Linked DNA regions of Homo sapiens: regions 1 and 3 are each linked to region 2. Evidence: promoter capture Hi-C in 16 types of primary human blood cells and fetal thymus (Javierre and others, 2016). All regions are on one chromosome and are shown on one strand. Each heading gives the region's core, a stretch centred on a gene start or on the middle of the fragment in contact. The rest is flanking DNA. Distances are from core to core; before and after follow the strand shown.

Evidence for each region. Contacts are between HindIII fragments. The CHiCAGO score rates a contact against its expected background, and 5 or more counts as called.
Region 1: the fragment with the promoter of PSEN1 here is called in contact with the fragment with the promoter of SPTLC2 in region 2 in 1 of 17 cell types (neutrophils); the score reaches 12.7 in neutrophils.
Region 3: a fragment that was not itself captured here is called in contact with the fragment with the promoter of SPTLC2 in region 2 in 1 of 17 cell types (monocytes); the score reaches 6.4 in monocytes.

What each region holds. Positions count from the first base shown.
Region 1 is chr14:73,134,584-73,138,345 of GRCh38, forward strand. PSEN1 (presenilin 1) reads left to right here and starts at 1,924. Exons shown (of 12, transcript NM_000021.4): 1 at 1,924-2,000. RefSeq lists silencers at 1,704-1,783, 2,044-2,103 and an enhancer at 2,274-2,383. The HindIII fragment of the contact is 2,442 bases long and covers 672-3,113 here.
Region 2 is chr14:77,614,227-77,618,158 of GRCh38, forward strand. SPTLC2 (serine palmitoyltransferase long chain base subunit 2) reads right to left here and starts at 2,411. Exons shown (of 12, transcript NM_004863.4): 1 at 2,222-2,411. The coding sequence starts at 2,353. RefSeq lists enhancers at 1,668-1,877, 2,206-2,738 and silencers at 2,058-2,257, 2,398-2,447, 2,778-2,837. The HindIII fragment of the contact is 6,254 bases long and covers 1-3,932 here.
Region 3 is chr14:73,051,230-73,055,148 of GRCh38, forward strand. No RefSeq gene overlaps it. Among named protein-coding and RNA genes, the nearest start is that of RBM25, 5.3 kb to the right of the region's middle. The HindIII fragment of the contact is 4,879 bases long and covers 1-3,919 here.

The sequences.
Region 1 (3,762 bases), core at 674-3,173, 4.5 Mb before region 2:
ATGGCGCAATCTCGGTTCACTGCAACCTCTGCCTTCCAGGCTCAAGCAATTCTGCCTCAGCCTCCCAAGTAGCTGGGATTACAGGCATGCGCCACCACGCCTGGCTAACTTTTTTTGTATTTTTAGTAGAGACGGGGTTTCTCCATGTTGATCAGGCTGGTCTCGAACTCCTGACCTCAGATGAGCCGCCCACCTTGGCCTCCCAAAGTGCTGGAATTACAGGCGTGAGCCACCGCACCCTGCCTATTGTACCATATTTAGTTTCCCAATTTTTTGCTATATAATATTCCATGAATATCTTTGCCCAAAATTTTTGTAGATTGTTTCTAAGAATAGTTCATCAGCATTTTAAGACATCCTATTAATATTAGCGGACTGCAATCAGATTGAAGTAGTTCACAAATAGATGGGTTTTAGCCTGTATTTGTTCAATACTGAACTATTGTATGTATCAGGCACTGTTATGTATCAGGCACTGTTCTCAGCACTTGTAAAATGTATATGTGCTGCTGACAAGCATGAGCACTTGTAAATGAACAAACTAAAATCCCTACTCTTGTTAAAGTGGGGGAGGTGAAGAATTTTAAAAACATCTTTTTTCGTTCAACCTTCTCCCACAACTTATCTTTCATTCTGCTAATGGAAAATATTACTTTTGTTCTTAAATATGAAGCTTTTGTGTGTAAAAAGTATTAGAATCTCATGTTTTTGAACAAGGTTGGCAGTGGGTTGGGAGGAGGGATTGGAGATTGATGCGATAGGAATGTGAAGGGATAGCTTGGGGTGGATTTTATTTTTTAATTTTAATTTTTATTTTTTGAGATGGAGTCTTGCTCTGTCTCCCAGGCTGGAGTGCAGTGGTGTGATCTCAGCTCACGGGTTCAAGCGATTCTCCTGCTGCAGCCTCCCGAGTAGCTGGGATTACAGGAGCGCGCCACCACACCCGGCTAATTTTTTTGTATTTTTAGTAGAGACGGGGTTTCACCATGTTGGTTAGGCTGGTCTAGAACTCCCAACCTCATGATCCGCCTGCTTCGGCCTCCCAAAGTGCCGGAATTACAGGCGTGAGCGACTGCACCCGGCCGCTTGGGGGTGGATTTTTAAAGAAACTTTAGAAGAATGTAACTTGCCCAGATACCATGTACCGTTAATTTCATTTTCGGTTTTTTGAATACCCATGTTTGACATTTCTCCGTTCACCTTGATTAAATAAGGTAGTATTCATTTTTTAGTTTTAGCTTTTGGATATATGTGTAAGTGTGGTATGCTGTCTAATGAATTAGACATTGGTACTGTCTTTACCAAAACTGGACAAAGAGCAGGCAGATGCAAAAATCAAGTGACCCAGCAAACCAGACACATTTTCTGCTCTCAGCTAGCTTGCCACCTAGAAAGACTGGTTGTCAAAGTTGGAGTCCAAGAATCGCGGAGGATGTTTAAAATGCAGTTTCTCAGGTTCTCGCCACCCACCAGAAGTTTTGATTCATTGAGTGGTGGGAGAGGGCAGAGATATTTGCGATTTTAACAGCATTCTCTTGATTGTGATGCAGCTGGTTCGCAAATAGGTACCCTAAAGAAATGACAGGTGTTAAATTTAGGATGGCCATCGCTTGTATGCCGGGAGAAGCACACGCTGGGCCCAATTTATATAGGGGCTTTCGTCCTCAGCTCGAGCAGCCTCAGAACCCCGACAACCCACGCCAGCGCTCTGGGCGGATTCCGTCAGGTGGGGAAGGCCAGGTGGAGCTCTGGGTTCTCCCCGCAATCGTTTCTCCAGGCCGGAGGCCCCGCCCCCTTCCTCCTGGCTCCTCCCCTCCTCCGTGGGCCGGCCGCCAACGACGCCAGAGCCGGAAATGACGACAACGGTGAGGGTTCTCGGGCGGGGCCTGGGACAGGCAGCTCCGGGGTCCGCGGTTTCACATCGGAAACAAAACAGCGGCTGGTCTGGAAGGAACCTGAGCTACGAGCCGCGGCGGCAGCGGGGCGGCGGGGAAGCGTATGTGCGTGATGGGGAGTCCGGGCAAGCCAGGAAGGCACCGCGGACATGGGCGGCCGCGGGCAGGGCCCGGCCCTTTGTGGCCGCCCGGGCCGCGAAGCCGGTGTCCTAAAAGATGAGGGGCGGGGCGCGGCCGGTTGGGGCTGGGGAACCCCGTGTGGGAAACCAGGAGGGGCGGCCCGTTTCTCGGGCTTCGGGCGCGGCCGGGTGGAGAGAGATTCCGGGGAGCCTTGGTCCGGAAATGCTGTTTGCTCGAAGACGTCTCAGGGCGCAGGTGCCTTGGGCCGGGATTAGTAGCCGTCTGAACTGGAGTGGAGTAGGAGAAAGAGGAAGCGTCTTGGGCTGGGTCTGCTTGAGCAACTGGTGAAACTCCGCGCCTCACGCCCCGGGTGTGTCCTTGTCCAGGGGCGACGAGCATTCTGGGCGAAGTCCGCACGCCTCTTGTTCGAGGCGGAAGACGGGGTCTGATGCTTTCTCCTTGGTCGGGACTGTCTCGAGGCATGCATGTCCAGTGACTCTTGTGTTTGCTGCTGCTTCCCTCTCAGATTCTTCTCACCGTTGTGGTCAGCTCTGCTTTAGGCATATTAATCCATAGTGGAGGCTGGGATGGGTGAGAGAATTGAGGTGACTTTTCCATAATTCAGGTGAGATGTGATTAGAGTTCGATCTGCGGTGGTGGCAGAGGCTTACAAGAAACACTAACGGGACATGGGAACCAATTGAGGATCAGGGAATAAAGTGTGAAGTTGACTAGGAGGTTTTCAGTTTAGAACATGGCAGAGACATTCTCAGAAATAAGGAAGTTAGGAAGAAAGACCTGGTTTAGAGAGGAGGGCGAGGAAGTGGTTTGGAAGTGTCACTTTGGAAGTGCCAGCAGGTGAAAATGCCCTGTGAACAGGACTGGAGCTGAAAACAGGAATCAATTCCATAGATTTCCAGTTGATGTTGGAGCAGTGGAGAAGTCTAAGCTAAGGAAGGGGAAGAGGAGGCCAAGGCAAACACTTAGGAACACTTGCAACGAGGGGGTGGAAGAAGAGCAAGGAGCCAGCTGAGGAGAATGAGTGTGGTTGGAGAACCACCACAGCGCAGGGTCGCCAGAGCTGAGGAAGGGGAGGGAAGCTTCAGGAAGGAAAAGGTTGGCAGGGATTTTGAGTGTTAGGCCTGGTGTAGCAGAAGGAACAGAAGATTTAGAGCAGCGCTAGCCAATAGAAATAAAATGTGAGGCCCGGGGCGGTGGCTCACGCCTGTAATCCCAGCACTTTGGGAGGCCGCGGGGCGGATCCTTGAGCTGAGGAGTTCGAGACCAGACAACACGGCGAAACCCCGGCTCTACAAAAAATTAGCTGGGCGTGGGGGCGCGCGCCTGTAGTCCCAGCTGCTCCCAAGCGAGGCTGAGGCAGGAGAATCACTTGAACCCGGGAGAAGGAGGTTGCAGTAAGCCAAGATTATGCCACTGCACTGCAGCCTGGGCAAAAGAGTGAGACTGTCTCAAAAAAAAAAAAAACCTGTTTTGTTTTTCTTTTGGAGAAAAGGCATACAAATTTATTAGCATGCAGACTGGGAGAACCACAAGGTGATTATCCCTATTTTAAATTTTCTAATAAACATACTATTATTTATTTATTTATTTATTTATTTATTTATTTATTTATTTTTTGAGACGGAGTCTGGCTCTGTCGCCCAGGCTGGAGTGCAGTGGCGCGATCTCAGCTCACTGCAAGCTCCGCCTCCCGGGTTCACGCCATTCTCCTGCCTCATCCTCCCCA
Region 2 (3,932 bases), core at 1,161-3,660:
TGCTAAATTGTTAGAGATTATGGGAGAAAGGTCCTTGATTTCCTACTAAATCTGAACATAACTCATAGGGATTGAAAGAAGCATTTGAACACAAAGCAACGCTGAAGTGTGAACACCTTTCTCTTGACTTCCTTTTTCATTTTAAAAAATCATACCGGCCAGGTGCAGTGGCTCACACCCGTAATCCCAGCACTCTGGGAGGCCGAGGCAGGCGGATCACGAGGTCAGGAAATCAAGACCATCCTGGCTAACACAGTGAAACCCCGTATCTACTAAAAATACAAAAAATTAGCCGGGCGTGGTGGCGGGTGCCTGTAGGCCCAGCTACTTGGGAGGCTGAGGCAGGAGAATGGCGTGAACCTGGGAGGTAGAGCTTGCAGTGAGCCGAGATCGCGCCACTGCACTCCAGCCTGGGCGACAGAGCGAGACTCCATCTCAAAAAAAACCAAAAAAACAAAAAAAATCATACCTCGGCCTGGTGCGCCTGTAATCCCAGCACTTTTGGAGGCCAAGGCAGGCCAATCACCTGAGGTCAGGAGTTCGAGACCAACCTGGCCAACATGGTGAAACCCCATCTCTAATAAAAATACAAAATTTAGCCGGGCGTGATGACGGGCGCCTGTAATCCCAGCTACTCGGGAGGCTGGGGCAGGAGAATCGCTTGAACCCAGGGGGTGGAGGCTGCAGTGAGCCGAGATCGCGCCATTGCACTCCAGCCTGGGTGACAAGAGCAAAACTGTCTGAAAAAAAAAAACAAAAACAAAAACAAAAAAAAAATCATACCTCAATGAAATTCACCTGCAAATGTATTTTCTAACTCCTACCCGTTAAATTTCCCTATTACATTCTATACCACAACAATTTTGTCTTATAAGTCGTTTACATTGCTAGGAAAACGACAAACTATTCCACTGCTTATAATGAGCTGACTGTTATCACTTCCTCCCTCACACAATTATTTCTTTAAAAGTGAAAACAAATCTTTTGATCTGTGTATTACTTCGCTTTGACACCTTACAACTTCAGGGGAGGTCAAGTCTGCTTTACTTATTTTTCCCCTCAACTCAGTCTCAATATCTCAACATGACCTGGAAAAATGCTTTATTTTCTGCTTCGCAGCAAACAGTAACAGACCTATCCATCATAACTACTCATCTGGGGAGTAGTTATGTTAAAGCCAAATTAAGATCACCATCCTATCAAACTGCAACAGTCACACTCCCGCTAAAGGGAAACAGAGTACTTTCTAAGCGTTCCTTAATATCTGTACAAGACTTAAACGTATTAAAGTCAACTGCAAAATTATCGCAACACTCTCTTCCAGGAACACCGATCTTGCATCTTTTTAACCAGCTCATCTTTAAAAACACATTTCAACAGAATATCTGTCAGTCCAGACCACTGTAAGGTTGATAATAAGCATTGTCTTGAATTTAGAACTTTTCAAAATATTTTAGAACTGCCTGAACTTGGTTGATGATTCAGCATGGTTAATTAGTATAGAGTCATCGCAAGTCACCACCAGGCTAAACAATCCCCTTGTGTGATAGCACTCGTGTTCAGGAAAGGGTCGAAGGGGCCACCTAATCCAACCTGGAGCCTGGGGTAGAGTCTCACCACCGGCAGAGTTAAGAGAATGATGCTTTCGAGGGACCAGCTTGGATTCCCTGCCAGATCTATGGACCAATGTCCTGGTTGGGGACTGAACGTGGTAGTCCAGAATGTGGTTGGGAGAGGCTGGGTGTGTTTCCATCTGACACCACCGCCTAATTTTCTTTGCTTCTTAAGGACCCCATGGGTGGTTTTCTTTGGACGACTGCAGGACTTTAAAAGGAAGCAATAACCTCAGGGGTTTGAGAAGGGACCCTCCGGAGCCCTTGGGCGGCTCCCACTGGAGTCCGAAGGGCCCCTCATCGCTTCCCCTGGGGACAGCACACACTTCTGGCAGAATGGGGCAGAGAAAAGTACCCGGAGCTCTGAGCAGAACCCAGAGCTCCGGGAGTAAGACCTCCAGGCGCGGAGAGGTGGGGAGCCCCCGAGCCGTCCTTGAGCCTCCAGGCTCGTGGAGGTCGGGCCAGCGGCCGGACACTGCCGCCCACACCTGCGAACGGCGCCCGCCCCGCGGATTGCCCAGCGGATGGCCCGGAGACCTCGCCCCGCCCGGCCGCCCCTCCGCCAGTCCACACCGCCACCCCGGCCCCGCCGCGCGGGCCCCTCGTACCTGGCCGGCGGCGGCTGCGGCTGCGGCTGCAGCGCTGCTCCTCACGTACCCGTTCCGTACTTCCCCGTTCGCCACGCAGCCATTCGCCCGCACCGTGCGGCGGCAGCAGCAGCCTCCGGGCTCCGGCCGCATCTTCCTGGCAGCACCAGGCGCAAGGCAGGCTCTGTAGGCGGTGGCAGCGGCGGCGGCTGCTCCAAGTCCCGCTCCGCACCCCACCCACCTCCCCGAAACCGGAAATGGCTGCAGCGCCGCCGCCAATTCCCGGGCGGGCCTTCACAGAGGGCGGGGCCCTCTCCGCAGAGGACCGGTCTCGGCCAAGGCCACGCAGCGAAGGGAAAAAGCGGCGGGGACCTGCCGAGAGGGATGTGGTCCTGAGGACCGCTGACCAATCTGGAAGAGAAGGAGGCGGACCCCATGCTGCTGCCTGGCCAATCACGGACGAGAGCAAAGCGCCTCGCCGGTGGAGAGGGGGCTTCTCTAGAGGGACTCCAGGGCCTGGCACCTGATTGGAGGCCGCATCCAGGTCCGGGGTAGGGCTTGCCTGTTTAATGGTCCAGACCGAGGAGGAGGCGGAGCCCAGGGAAAAGTAGCCAATTAGAGTGTGAGGAAATAAAAGGGGCTGAGCCGAAGTCTCTAGAGCGGGTTCCCAGGTTCTCCAGGACAGGTGGCGCCCTCTTTGCCCTTGCCTCGTGGGAAGTTTTGGAGTTTATGTCCTAGCCCAAGACAGGCAGCTCGCTTATTTAATTAGCTGATTCCTCTGTGAGTGTTTATAGAATAGATTTTTTGACAATCTCTCATCATTCTTCAATATGCGCCACACATTCACTATTTCTGAATTATTATAAGTAATAATTCAGATGCCTTTTCACGTGCCCTTCACATTTGCCCTTGGCAGGGTTTTCTATACAGTCTCCTTTAAATTAAGTCTTTCCTTCAAAGTTAGAAAACCTGGTCTAATTCCAACTCTGCCAATAACTGGAAGCTAAAACTTGAGCACTGTGTTTAACCACTTTAGAAGCCAAATTCTTTAAAATGGAGTTAATACTTCCTGCTTCATAGACTTACAGCAAGAATTATATCATTAACCCATTATGCACCTCTTATAATACTAGGCTTATAGTAGGAGTATAATAAATATTATTTTCTCACCCTTTTAGTTCCATCTTCCCATGGGGTTAGAAAGCAAGGAAATTGATCTACATTACAATTAGAGACTTTCTGTTATCCATAAAGAATTTAGTATCATAATTGAGAGTATGGACTCTGGAGTCGGTCTGGGTTTTAAATCCTAGCTGCGCCACTTACTAGCTGAGTGACCTCTATGTGTCTTCATCTGTTCAGTGGGGACAATAATAGTTGTCGTGAAGATTGAATAAGTTTATGTATGTAATGTATTTTGTACAGGACCTAGCAATTAGTAAGCATTCATTAAGTGTTGGTTACTAGTAATTGCTAAATGCACCTATGAGAATCCGTGCATTCTTTCCCCACCCTGCAGGAGCTTTAGAAAGGAGGTCCACAAGGTATTGGTTTTGCATGACTTAGGAGCTGAATAATCTAACAGAAGGTGGGATCATTCATCCCACACATCCTATTTGAGTTGACAAACACTATTGATCCCAAAGTGAATATACATCTGTATGTATAAGGCTAAAAAGGAAACATGTGGCTGTGCTTCATGGAGCTTACATTTCAGTGAGAGACAAGATAT
Region 3 (3,919 bases), core at 339-2,838, 4.6 Mb before region 2:
TGCAAGCTCCGCCTCCCGGGTTCACAGCATTCTCCTGCCTCAGCCTCCCGAGTAGCTGGGACTACAGGCGCCCGCCACCACGCCCGGCTAATTTTTTGTATTTTTTAGTAGAGACGGGGTTTTACCGTGTTAGCCAGGATGGTCTCGATCTCCTAACCTTGTGATCCGCCCGCCTCGGCCTCCCAAAGTGCTGGGATTACAGGCGTGAGCCACTGTGCCTGGTCTTTTTTGCCAATATTAAATACAGTTTTACTTAAGACATTGTATTTTCTACTTAAAGTGCAGTGCTTATAAGTGCAATGCTATTTCCTTCCCCTGTGCTCATGTTCCATATTCAAGATTTTTTTTTTTTTTTTTTTTTTTTGAGACAGAGTCTTGCTCTGTCACCCAGGCTAGAGTGCAGTGGCACGATCTCAGCTCACTGCCAGCTCCACCTCCCGGGTTCACGCCATTCTCCTGCCTCAGCCTCCCGAGTAGCTGGGACTACAGGCGCCCGCCACCACGTCTGGCTAATTTTTTTGTATTTTTAGTAGAGACAGGGTTTCACTGTGTTAGCCAGGATGGTCTTGATCTCCTGACCTCGTGATCCACCCGCCTTGGCCTCCCAAAGTGCTAGGATTACAGGCGTGACCCACCGCGCCCGGCCAACATTTTTTTTTGATGGTGACTTTCAATATATCAAAAGTTCTTAATATAGTTGGATTTGTCAATCTTTTCTGTTTAGGTTATGCTTATAGTATCTTCCTTAAGAAATCCTTCCTGTCGGGGCACAGTGGCTCATGGCTGTAATCCTAGCACTTTGAGAGGCCGAGGCGGGCAGATCACTTTTGAGGTCAGGAGTTCGAGACCAGCCTGGCCAACAAGGTGAAACCCCGTCTCTATTAAAAATACGAAAATTAGCTGGGCGTGGTTGTGGGCGCCTGTAATCCCAGCTACTCCGGAGGCTGAGGCAGGAGAATTCCTTGAACTTGGAAGGCGGAGGTTGCAGTGAGCCAAGATCACGCCACTGCACTCCGGCCTGGGTGACAAAGTAAAACTCTGTCTCAAAAAAAAGAAAAAAAAAAGAAAAAAGAAAAAAGAAATCTTTCCCTATCATGAATTCATAAGATGTTCTCAAAGTTTTAAGGTTTTATCATTGATAATTAATATGTTCATTTCAACAATTGCTAAAAAAGAATTCCATAAAATTCAACATCTATTGATGACTAATTTATTTATTTATTTACTTATTTCTTCTACAGAGTGGGACAGGGTCTCACTCTGTCACCCAGGGTGAAGTACAATGGTGTGATCATGGTTCATGCAGCCTTGACCTGTGCCCCACCATGCCTGGCTAATTACAAAAAAAATTTTTTTAGAAACAGAGTCTCCCTATGTTGCCCAGACTGGTCTCAAACTCCAAGACTCAAGTGATCCTCCTGTCTTGGCCTCGCAATGCACTGGGATTATAGGCGTTAGCCACTGTCCTCAGCCTAAGAAAAATCCCTTTAAAGATTTCCTATGTAGTCTTTTTATATTCCATATCTAATATTTCAATATCTGAATTGGGAATTTAAGTCTGTTGGTTTTGTGTGTGCACATGTGTGTATGTGTGTGTGATGCTGCATTTATGGTGGCTCATTCCTAATATTCTTGGCACTTTAATTTTTTTTTAGACAGTCTCACTCTGTTGCCCAGGCTGGAGTGCAGTGGAGCGATTTCAGCTCACTGCAACCTCCACCTCCCAAGTTCACCTGATTCTCCTGCCTCAGCCTCCTGAGTAGCTGGGACCACAGGCATGTGCCACCACGCACGGCTAATTTTTGTACTTTAGTGGAGATGGGGTTTCACCATGTGGGCCAGGCTGGTCTTGAACTCCTGAGCTCAAAGCAATCCACCTCCTCGGCCTCCCAAAGTGCTGGGATTAGAGGTGTGAGCCGCCATGCCTGGCCCTTGGCCTTTTTTTTTTTTTTTTTAAGACAGAGTTTCACTCTTGTTACCCAGGCTGGAGTGCAATGCTGTGATCTTGGCTCACCACACCCTCCACCTTCCAGGTTCAAGCGATTCTCCTGCCTCAACCTCCTGAGTAGCTGGGATTATAGGCATGCACCACCATGCTTGGCTAATTTTTTGTATTTTTAGTAGAGACGGGATTTCTCCATGTTGGTCAGGCTGGACTCAAACTCCTGACCTCTGGTGATCCGCTTGCCTCAGCCTCCCAAAGTGCTGGAATTACAGGTGTGAGCCACATTGCCCGGTCAATTTTTTTTTTTGACTAAGTCTCGCTGTGTCACCCAGGGTGGAGTGCAGTGGTGCCATCTTGGCTCACTGCAACCTCCGCCTCCTGGGTTCAGGCAATTCTCCTGCCTCAGCCTCCCAAATAGCTGGGACTACAGGTGAGTGCCACCACACCTGGCTAAGTTTTGTATTTTTAGTAGAGACAGGGTTTCTCCATGTTGGTCAGGCTGGTTTCAAACTCCTGATCTCAGGTGATCCACCCGCCTCAGCCTCCCAGAGCGCTGGGATTACAGGCGTGAGCCATCATGCCTGGCCTGCATTTTTAAATTTTAAGCTCACATTTGATATCAGAATCCTGAAGCCTAAATTAGGGATTCTTTTCTCCATGGGAACTATGTTTGCTTCTGTCAAGAGCCTAGGACTATTACTAACAAGGGAGCACTTTAACATCCTTTCAGAGTCCTGACTTAACTTGGTAAACTTCAGTTACTCCACCTTGCTGGGTAGTCCAGCCTTGATCTCTAGATTCTGTGTTAATGTGCTTCCTCTCTCTATCTTCTTCTCTCTATATACACATATATATTATATATATTCACATATATTATATATATAATGGCATTATATGTATTATATTTATATATTTTATGCCATTATATACTATATAATGGCATTGTATATATATATATATTTATGTATGTATATGTATTTATGTGTGTGTATATATATATATATATATATATATATATATATATAATGATGGCCATGCATACACACGCAAACACACACACACACACAAGCAATCCTCTCTCCTCATGATTGAGACTACAGGTGTGTGCTACTGTGCTGGGCTCCAGTTTCAATTTTTGAGAAGATCTGCTCAGTTCCAGCTAAACAACATTTTTCCTGGTATGCTGCTGTTTAGTTGGGTCAGATGTGGCCAATGAGAATAGGGTCCAGGCCAGGTGTGGTGGCTCATGCCTGTAATCCCAGCATTTTGGGAGGCTGTGGCAGGTGGATCACCTGAGGTCGGGAGTTGGAGACCGGCCTGGCTAACATGGAGAAACCCCACCTCTACTAAAAATACAAAATTAGCTCGGCATGGTGGCATGTGCCTGTAATCCCAGCTACTTGGGAAGCTATGCCAGGAGAATCGCTTGAACCTGGGAGGCGGAAGTTGCGGTGAGCCGAGATCATGCCATTGCATTCCAGCCTGGGCAATGAGAACAAAACTCCATCTCAAAAAAAAAAAAAAGAAAAAAAAAAGAATGGTGTCCAAATGCACACAGAATGTAATATCCAAATTAATTATCTACAGTTTCCTTAGCAAGGATTTGTAAGAAAAAAATAGAAGGAGGATAACTGGCATCGCAAATGAATGGCTTGGCTTGTTCTCTACAAGTGGTATATAAGTGTATCATTTAGAGTTCTTTCTGTGTAAGGAATAGAAAACTCAACTCAAACTGATTTCGGAAAAGTAATGTATTGGGTTACATACTGATAAGCCTAGAACAGCTGGCTTTAGGAGTAGCTGAGCCAGCCGGGCTCAGTGTAATCCTGGCTTTTGGGAGGCTGAGGTGGGAGAATCGCTGGAGCCTGGAAAGTTGAGGCTGCAGTGAGCCGTGATCATGCCACTGCACTCTAGCCGGGACAACAAAGGGAGACCCTATCTCAAATAACAACAGCAATAACAAACCAAAAAACA